Regions from separate parts of the Homo sapiens genome. Here region 1 is linked to region 2. The links are contacts of gene promoters, found by promoter capture Hi-C in human tissues and cell types (Jung and others, 2019). All regions are on one chromosome and are shown on one strand. The core of a region is centred on a gene start or on the middle of the fragment in contact, and the rest is flanking DNA. Distances in the headings are between cores, read along the strand shown. Region 1 overlaps LINC02320 (long intergenic non-protein coding RNA 2320). Region 2 holds the start of DIO3 (iodothyronine deiodinase 3).

Region 1 (4,928 bases), core at 2,281-4,780, 72 kb before region 2:
AAGCACCTAACACTAACAGTCATTACCACTAAGATAAAGAAACAAAATATAGACCTCTAAGGCGGGAATTAAAATAAGAGCTAATCAAAAAGAAAACTAAATATCTTTGCAGAATAAAGAACTTCACTAAAAAAGCTGGCAGCTAGATGAAATCTGACTGTTGGCTGATTGATGGGAAGGTCAAGGTCATGCCCCTGGGTGTAGCATCTAGGGCACTCTCTGGAGAGGGGCTACCCATACAATCTTAGGTGCCAGAATAAGAGTGACTGAATTTAGGATTCGTTACTCCCAAAGAGAAAGAGTCACTGAGAGAGGTGTCGGGGCCAGCTACAGTGGAGTGCTGGCCACCATCTTGGTTCCATTTTGCATTTGAAGCCAGCGCTGAGGTAGAGAGGTAGGAAAACAGAGCAGAGAGATGGAAGGCACCAGGGTCTTTGAGGACCACACCCAGCTACCACACACCCTGAACCCCATTCCACTTCTAGACTTCCTGTTAGATGAAATGATCCATGTTTTTATGGTTTTAGCTTGAGACAGGTTTTATGTTCCTTGTGGCCAAAGACATTTAAACTGAGGTGATCCTTGATAAATGTTTTCTCAATGGATAGATGGAAAGCTGAACGAGAAGGTTATTAAAGGATTAAAATAAAGGCTATGTACGCAGGCAGGGCTGGAACCCCCTCCCCACAAGGGGTGCCCGGTGTGGGCTGGGGTGGGTGAAGGAGCGTACGGGGCTGGCCCTCACCGCCAGGTATGTCAGAAAGTGCCCCCGTCTTCACAGCAAAGGCTGCTGAGTGAACCAAAGAGTTTTGCAAAGTTTTATTATGATTCAGAAAGGAGTGACAGTGACGGGGCGGCAGGGATGACTGATCACTCTCAGCTCAGACAGGTTTCATCTTCTGAATGTTCAATCAGAGCATGAGTGATTGGTGGGTATTAGAGGCGCTCTTTTAAAGGTCAGTGCGGCAGACAGAAGTCCTCGTGGCCCAGACATGTGCCTTAGTAACCACAGCGGAATTCATTAACTTGTCATGGCTGTCCCAGAGCCTGTCAGCTGGCCTTCCACAGACATATGTCATCCTCAACCACATCCACGCTGGCCGGGCCAAAGGAGGAAGCCACACAGGGCCAGAGTATGGGCAACTGGGGAAAGCAAGGCCCAGCACCCCATCCAGTTCCCTTCACGTTATTCTCACAGTAGCCAGCACTTATTGAGCGCTTACTGTGTGCCAGCACCCTGGCAAGTCCTGGATACTTAATGCTCACAACCTCCTTTGGAGATGTACCTGGTGAGTCCCATTCAAGGAAAAGGAGGCTCGGGCATGGCCCTGGACATACCAGGGACAGAGCTGAGGTGGAGTCCAGGCTCCCAGCTGTACCCAACACTACTCACCACCAGGGGCCCACGCTGGGCATGGGACACACCCCCACATAACACAGCTGTAAACACGTTCCCAGTAAAGGGGGACACACATTTTTGGGGGTGTGGGTGGTTTAAGCAAATCCCAGGGATTGCCTGCTTACTCCTTCTAGGGCCAGGGAAGCTGGGCTGGAGGAAGCTGTCTGGGAGCCCAGGAGGCAAGCAGAAAACCGCCAGGACCGCCCCACGCTGGGGGAGCAGCAGGCACGGCCCCTACCAACACCCCCTGGCACCTCGCAAAGCTAGAGCCCGCCCGGTCCCCTCCCCGGAGCGCCCTGGTCTTTGGTTCGTATTCAGCACATCTTCAGAAACAGTGATAGAAAAATGCTGGTTTCTGACTCCACCAGCTCACGGAGGAGATGCCAGCTCACGGAGGAAAATCTGGAAGGTGTTGAAGCATAGACGCTGGAACATAAAATGACTCATGATCTCACTGGGAGAAGGGCTGGGAACATCGTGGGCTCTCTTCTCCCCGCGCTCCTCTCTCCGGGTCTCTGTTTCCCTCATTCCACGATGTTTAGTGAGTACCTGCAGAGGGGGCTTCCCGGGATGCAGGGCTCAGGGCAGGGGTGGGGGCGAGCGTGGGCGAGGCAGAGCGGGCGAGCGCGGGCTGGGAAGGGCGCCCCTGGCGGGCGGCCCGGGCATAAAGGCTTTTGAGCTGGCCTCGCGGGCAAGGCAGGAGGACTGCCTGGGGGAGGCGGCCATACGCCCACCCTAGAGGAAAGCGGCCACCAACGCTGAGGGTCCGGCCCCCACTGACCCTCTGAGACCGAGCCGCCTCGTGTACCAGCGAGGCCACCCGCGCACCTGGCTTGGGCTCCCAGCCCCGCGCCCCTCCACGTCGGAGGCGCAACACCTGTACCCGAGCCTCGGACTCTGAGAACGTCTGGCCTTTAGATAGGCCTCGCGCTCCCAGCGCTGGGGAGTCCTGCATCCCCTAACCGGTGTCTCTCCCGGATGCAATGGAGGTGAACCCCTGGGGTCTCGCGGATCCCGAGTTCAAAGCGACCACAGACTGCTCTGCTTCCAGGACATCCCCTTGGACACCCTCCTCCCCCGCCCAGGCAACCCAAAACCAGCATGTCCCCAGACACACTCCCCTAGACACACTCCGCAACGCCCCAGACCTGCTCCCCACTGAGTCCTCTGTATCCAGGAACCATCGGCGCACTACATCAGACTAGAGGTCTGGGGTCACCCGACCATCCCGCCACAAGCCCCTCCGAGGCATCACTGTGTCCAGATTTTGCAAACTGCACCTCCTGAAGGGGCTGGGGTCTGTCCACTTCGCCCCATCTGCCGTGGCAGCACTTCCTCCGTGGTTCGCACCCCCACAGCAGCCTCCTGGGAAGGCACCTCCCTGGGGCCCCTCTCAGTCCACGGTGTGGATATGGTGAGTTCTTAAACCATGAACTTCTGATTTCACAGCTCTGCTTGAAGCCTTCAATGTCAGGCTTCCTGTTGCTCTTAAGATAATGATCAAAACTCTCAACAAAGTTCCCCTGATAAATGCTCTCAACGTGCCCCCCACCACAGCATCCCTAACTGTAATGAATACATCATTGGTCCTCACGGCAGCGGATTAATCGTCTGTGAGTGTTGGTTTAATCTTTCTCTTCTGGAGTTTAGCTGTCACTGCCATATCCCCAGCACGGAGCACAATGACATGTTTATATGTAGAAAATTGAGCGAAAAATAAAAACAGCTAACATTTGGGTACTTATTATCTTCCAGGCAGCAAGCTATGCATTTTGCATATATTAGCAAATCCATGAGGCAGGTGCTGTCTTCATTGTACAGGTGAGGAGCCTGAAGCTCAGAGAGGTGAAGGAACATCCTCAAGGCCACGCTCTGAAATCAACAAAAGATACATCAGTTTATTGTGGGAAACATCAGAACATGCAGAGATATTAACAAAGAGAAGTCACTCAGAGATGACTGTCATTAACATTTTGGTGTATTTCTTCGTAGACATTTTCCTATGTCTCTGCATAGTAACATACTGTCCAGAGTGCTTGTAATCTGCTAGACGGTTTGATGAGACCAAGTTTTCATGGTATTAGCCACGGCAATATTTGTATTCATATTTTAGGGTATGGCTGAACTGAAATTTGCTTTTGCTCAACTCAGCCCCTCTTGTGAACATTAGGCACTTTGCACTTCACCTGCTGAAAACGTGGTAGTCATAAACACGCTGGTAGCTCAATCGTCCCACCTATCTTTACTATGTTATTCATTCCTAGCAGTGGGGCCTGGGTCAAAAGTTCTGCAGGGTTTTAAGGCTTTGGATCAGTGGTTCGGGATTGTCCTCTGGGACGGGCTGAGAAGCACACATGCCTGCCGGTGGTGACAAGCATTCCTTCCTAGTGCAGAGTCAGGTCTGCACCTGGCACCCCCTACCCATCCAGGTTGGGTCCCTGGCATTCAGTTATGTGGAACAGACCAGAAAAATTAAAAAAGAACCCCCTCCCGCATCTTCCCCGAAGGACCACTGGCCTGCTGTCTCTCCCCGCACTCCCCCACTGGAGTTCATACCCACTGAATCACGACCCCCTTGTGGCTAAGCCCTGGTGCGCCACCCTGCAAAATCAAAGGTGGTGTCTAGGCACAGAAATGGCTCCGTGACCTATGTCCCCTTTGTTCTAATCTAGAATCCAGCCAGGAGTATGCGTGTCAGAAGCCAGGGGTGATTGTGTTTTTTCTCCTTCCTCTTTCTTTAGGTCAGGAAGATTCCTGCAGCTGCTGAGTTAGTACTTTTAAGAAAGTACTGGATTCCCTCTCACAATGGGACTTTGATTTTTTTAAGAAAAAGGTTTCATAAGTTTTCAAATAACCTGGAGCAGTTGAGCAAACTTAATGTGCAGCGTGGTCCCTGCTGGCTGGGTTTGAGGGGCTGGGTCTCTCTGAGTGGATGCTGGTGAGGTGCAGAGGTGAGTGAAGGCTTATCCGGGAATGGAGGAGAAGGGGACAGCCTGGGGAATAAAAAAGAACTTTCCGTGAGACGCTGTACCTCAATGCTAGATAATGCCAGGCTGGGCTTTTGCTAGTCTTAAAAACTACATCACGCATGTTATAGGCAAAGGCCGGCAGCCCCTCCCAGGGAAAGCCCTTTGTTTGAGTCCATAGAGACCCCCTATTGCAAGGGCCCCTTTCGTGATTTTTGAGGGGTCTGCAGGAAAAGAGGGCAGAGGTCGTAGTTTGGGGATCGCTGGTGACCATGCACCAACTTTTTTGTTGTTTCCATCTCAGGAAGAAGAAAAGGTGCCTGAGGGCCTGTGTGGAAGGCCTGTCACACAGCACATCCTGGGAAATCTGTCCAGGAAGCAGCCAGGCGGGCATCAGCCAGGCGGGCATCAGCATCTTCACTGTGCAGATGAGAAACTGAGGCCGCAGAGGTGAAGGGACATGCCCAGGATCACTAAGGCAAGACGGGGGAAGAGCAGAGATCTTGGGCATGATCTCGGCTCACTGCAACCTCCACCTCCCAGGTTCAAGGGATTCTCCTGCT
Region 2 (4,695 bases), core at 2,008-4,507:
GAAAAAAAAATCCACAAATTTAGGATGTCAGTTTCAAAAAGTTTTTACGGAGGAGCAGCGCGGGGGCTGGGCGCAGAATTAGGGACGCCGTTGGCTGAACGGGGGCGTCTCTTCCATCCTGCCTGCCGCGCCCCTCTGCACCCCTACCCAACCCTGCCATGTACACCCGCGCTCACATCCAAGCGCGCAAACCGACACTACTCACCCCCACCCCCGGCGACCCTGACAATCCTGGGTTCCCAGGCATTGTCCTGGCGCGCCAGGGAAGTTGCCGTGCCCAGTCCCCTCACCTGGATCCGTACACTCCCGCCTCAGCGGCTTTCACTGTGTCCCCCACCTTTCACTTAATGTTCAAGGTTTCGCTGGCACAGGGGCTGCGGGCTAAGCTAATCCCGCGTCCCCCGGGTCGCCCTCACTCCGGGCGCAACAGGCGAGACAGTGAGGGCGGGGATTGCGCGAGAGCGAGCCCCTGGCCGTGACTGCAAGAGGGGACCTGTGCCTAAGGCCCCGAATCCCCGCCCCAGCCCTGGAATCCACCATTCACCTCTCCCTGGTCTCTCTCTCTTCATCCCAGCGGCCTCCCACCTCTGCTTCCCAGCACGGAGCGGGTGGTGGGGTTTGACTGGAGCTTGGGGAAGCGGAGGAGGGACAGGAGGAGGGGGGTCCTGGGCAGGGGGCGCACCCAGCAGCACGCTGGCCCGGCAGTAGGAGCCGCAGCTGGAGTGAGGGCGCCCCTCTGCCAAGGCGCGCCTCCAGCGGACCTCAGCTGCCTGGAGCGGGTGGGCAAGAGGCAAGGTTGCAGGTGCCGGAAGGGGGCCAGGGAGGAGTCAGGTGCGCAGTGGTGCCTGCAGCGGTCGGGAGCCAGGCTGTACCGGGTCCAAAGCCCCTCTCGCCCTCCACCTCACCCAACCCCCTCCACACACCGCCGGATACTCAGTTAAGTTGGATCGGCGGCTGCAGGGGCAGCTGCATCTGTTCGGTCTGTGTGTGCGCGCGCGGGAGCAAGAGAGGGCCCCCTTGCCTCTCCCGCCGCTTTCCAGGATCCCGCGGCGCTCCGCTACCTCGCTCTTCTCCCGCAGCTAAGTTCCCCGTCCAGGTGGGTGCGTGCGGTTGTAGGAGCGCCCCGGGCACCGCCGCAGACCCTCTTCCTCCTCCATCCTCCTCCAGCGCCCCTGCCAGCCTAGGCTCCTTCCCGTCCCGCTTCCCAAGGTCACTATGGGGACGCGAGGGAGGGATTTGTGTTTAATTCCTGCCGCTATTCAGAGGGAAAAGAAAATAAAGGGACCAAAGGCAACCAGAAAGCAGTTTACCTCAAGCCTTTATTATTGTAGATTGAAAGAAGTTTATATACAGGAAATATTTCCAGCAAAACACTCACCAAATGGCCTTCGAATCAGGGGCCCTCCACCTCCCAGCCCCACAATCAGCAGCTCTGCCTAGGACTCCCCTCACTTGGGGACCTCAGGCTCTCCCCCCACCTCTCTTTCCCCGGACTCCATCACCCCAACGTCATTCCCCAGGAGTCTCAGCTTTTTCTCTCTCCCTGGGGCGCTGCGAACCTCGCCAATGCCTCTCAAGCTATCTTCCTCTGGTCCCAAAGCAGACACCCCAACTTCCCTCCCATTTAAGGTGGTTACCTCACGGAAACCCAGAGCACCCTCCCCCTCAAGGTTTAGGTGCTGCTTTGAGGCCCCTGCAATTCAGAACTAGCTCGTGGTCAAGACCAGTTAGAGATAGTTCGTCATCAGCAGTGGGGCTCCTGTGCACCCAAAACAAGCGGGGGAAACTACCCTGCCCACCCCTCCCCATCCACGACATCACTTCCCCTACCAGGGACAGGAAACAGACACAAAAGCAACAGGGAACCCCCTCTCCGCGCGCGACAGGTGGGTGCCAGGCAACTAGCTCAGCTGAGCTGAGAGTCTCCTGGAACCCAGCTGCGCTCAGGGCGCGCGGGCGTGGCCAAGGTCTCTGTGCAGCTGCGGGAAGCACCGGGCCAAAGCACTTGGCTGAGGGCACGCTGGGGAGGGGGTGTAAGAAAATGCTGTAGAGGCAAAGTCCTGGGGGCACACGGACAAGGGCAAGCCATATCCCGCGCTCAAAAGAGGATTTCCAGTGAGCCAGGCAGGTGTGAATGAGACAGTTACAGAAGCAGAGTCCCAGGGAGGTAGGGGAGATTGTTCATGTGGCTGAGGGTGCAGACTCAGTCTGAAATGGTGGCTCAGCACATCAGTGTCACTGGGGCCTCGCCAAGCGTGACTTGGTTTGAGGCGCTTGCACGTGGGCTTCGAAGGCTCGAAGGCCCAGCCCACCAAGTTCAGTCAATTGTCCGTTGGATGTTTACACCCTCCGGGGCCGAGCGCCGTGCAGTTGCTCATCATAGCGTTCCAACCAAGTGCGCAGCTCAGAGACCTGGTAGCCGTCGGGGCCACGGCCGCCCTGGTACATAATAGTGCCACTCTGGATGACATAGAGACGCTCGAAGTAGGCGCCATAGGCCGAGCTGCTGGAGTTGGCCATGGTGTCGAGGACCAGAGCGCAGCCGGGTGCACCTTGCTGCAGTACCCTCGCTGCGCTGACCCGGTCCTCCAGGCTCCGGTGCTGTGGGATGATGTAGGGAGAGTCCGTGGTGACCCAGCCGTCGGAGGGGTGCGCTTCCTCGATGTAGATGATGAGGAAGTCGACGTCGCGCTGGTACTTAGTGACCAGGCGCTGGAAGGCGCTCATGCGCGCCATGAACGGTGGTCAGGTGCAGCTGCCGAAATTGAGAACCAGCGGGCGGTTCCCTTGCGCGTAGTCGAGGATGTGCTGGCTCTGGAAGCCGTCGGGCAGAACCACCTCGGAGTTGGGCGCCGGACCGCCCTCGTGCGCCTGCTTGAAGAAATCCAACTTCTGGCCATGCCACACCGCCTTGAGCGACGCCAGGGTGCACAGGCGGTTGTCGTCGGACACGCAGATGGGCGGGTCATCGGGAGGCACCTCCTCGCCTTCACTGTTGAGCTCCACTTCGGGCTCGGGCTGCCCCCGGCGGCGGCGGCCCAGGAAATGCTTGCGGATACACAAGAAATCGAGAAGCCAGAGCATGAAGGCCGTGCCGAGGAAGCGCGGGAAGAGCACGAGGCACGAGGCGGTCTGGGCGCAGAGCCTCAAGGAGTGAAGCAGCAGGGAGCGGAGCATGGTGGCTGCAGGCCCCGAAGCCCCCTGGGACCCCTCGCCCTCTCCGACCACCAACCGCGACGTGGCCTGGCGAGGCATCTGGGCTTCAGCAGTGCAGGGAGTTCAATTTATAGCGGAGGCTTCAATTGGCGGGAGACTCCACCTCCGGCCCGGCCCGCCCCCTTGCAACTTGAGCCCGGAGGGATCACCCAGCAGCGCGGCCAATGCCCTAGAAATCTTGGGCTGAGGGCGGGCGCAGGCGGGCGGAGGGCGGAGCGGCCGGGCCTGGGGCCGGTGGGGGCGGGCCCGGGCCCCGCAGCCAGCTCTCGGGGGCGGGGGACTCCGGCAGCCGCTGCCGCTGGGGACCGGGAGCCCGACCAGGGACCTGGGCGTCCGCTGGGGAGGTCCTCCAGCTGGCGCGAGCGCTGCGCGCCGCCCTGGTCCCCGCCGCCTGGCTCCGGCCCGCGCCCCCCTCGCCGCGCACCTGAGCCGAGCTCCCCGGCGGCCGCCGAGCCGCGCCGGAGCTCCGGTTCGCTTCCCGCGCGCCGCCGCCAACGCCGCCCACGCCGCTGCCGCTCGTGCGGGGCCGCTGCCCAGGTGCCGCGGGAGGCCGGGTCCGCGGCCGCCGCTTCGGTGGCCCCGGCTCCCGCCCCACCGAGGACGCGGGCCAGCGAGGAGGCAACTTTGCGTTCCCGCCGCCTTCCTGGCTCGCCCGCGGGCGCCGCTCGCCTGCCGGAGCCCGCCCGCCCGCCTCCCGCGCGCGCTCACACTCGCGCCTCGCACACGGCCGCCCCCCGCACCGCCCCGCCACGCACACCGCGCTCCGCGCCCCCCGCCGCTGCCCGAGGCTGCCGCGCGCCGCCCCAGCCCGCGCCGCCCTGGCCGCGCCCGCCCCGTCCCATCTCGTTCCAGCGGGGCGCCGCGGTTCCTGGGTCAGCGGCCGCCGGGGCCGGGCTGAGAGGTGCGGAGGGCAGAGCCCGCGGGCGGGTTACCGCCGGGCGCCGGAGACCGGAGAGCTGGGGAAAGCGGCGCCGGCCCTGCGCCCCCAGCCGACCCGGGCGCGGGGCGCCACGGGCGTGGGGCGCGGGGCAGCGGGCGCGGGGCGGCGCCGGCCCCGGGCGGCTCTCCCACTAGGGGTAGCTGTTGCCTGAACGCCGGAGCGCTCCCCTCTCGCCGCTTGCCTCGCCCAGCGCAGCCCCGGCCGCTGGGCGCACCCGTCCCGTTCGTCCCCGGACGTTGCTCTCTACCCCGGGAACGTCGAGACTGGAGCGCCCGAACTGAGCCACCTTCGCGGACCCCGAGAGCGGCGGCGCGACTCACCGCGGAGGCGCCCGGACGCGTCAAGTGCGTACTTTCAACCGTAAATGGGTGCTGAGCGTTTAGGGGTGCGGGGCAACTCCCTAACTCGTGGGGCCCTGGCCGGCCCTGCCGCGGCGTCCGAGACCTTCTGATCCCTCGCTGCGCGCGGCGCGGGGTTGGCGACTTGGGCTCAGGGGCGGCGGGGCGGGGAGGTGCCTTGACCTAGGGACCCAGAGGCCG

What was found. Contacts are between HindIII fragments. The study calls those that stand out against the background at their distance.
Region 1: a contact is called between a fragment that was not itself captured here and the fragment with the promoter of DIO3 in region 2, in 2 of the 25 tissues and cell types used here (mesendoderm cells and pancreas).

The regions. Positions count from the first base shown.
Region 1 is chr14:101,632,328-101,637,255 of GRCh38, reverse strand. It overlaps LINC02320 (long intergenic non-protein coding RNA 2320), which reads left to right. Exons shown (of 6, transcript NR_184269.1): 2 at 1,768-1,940; 3 at 2,577-2,813; 4 at 4,141-4,350; 5 at 4,670-4,843. Among named protein-coding and RNA genes, the nearest start is that of DIO3, 73 kb to the right of the region's middle. The HindIII fragment of the contact is 8,632 bases long and covers 1-4,928 here.
Region 2 is chr14:101,560,057-101,564,751 of GRCh38, reverse strand. DIO3 (iodothyronine deiodinase 3) reads right to left here and starts at 3,257. Exons shown (of 1, transcript NM_001362.4): 1 at 1,300-3,257. The coding sequence starts at 3,255. The coding sequence ends at 2,341. It overlaps DIO3OS (DIO3 opposite strand upstream RNA), which reads left to right and starts at 4,330. Exons shown (of 2, transcript NR_152588.1): 1 at 4,330-4,500. It overlaps MIR1247 (microRNA 1247), which reads left to right and starts at 4,330; the gene lies at 4,330-4,465. The HindIII fragment of the contact is 20,870 bases long and covers 1-4,695 here.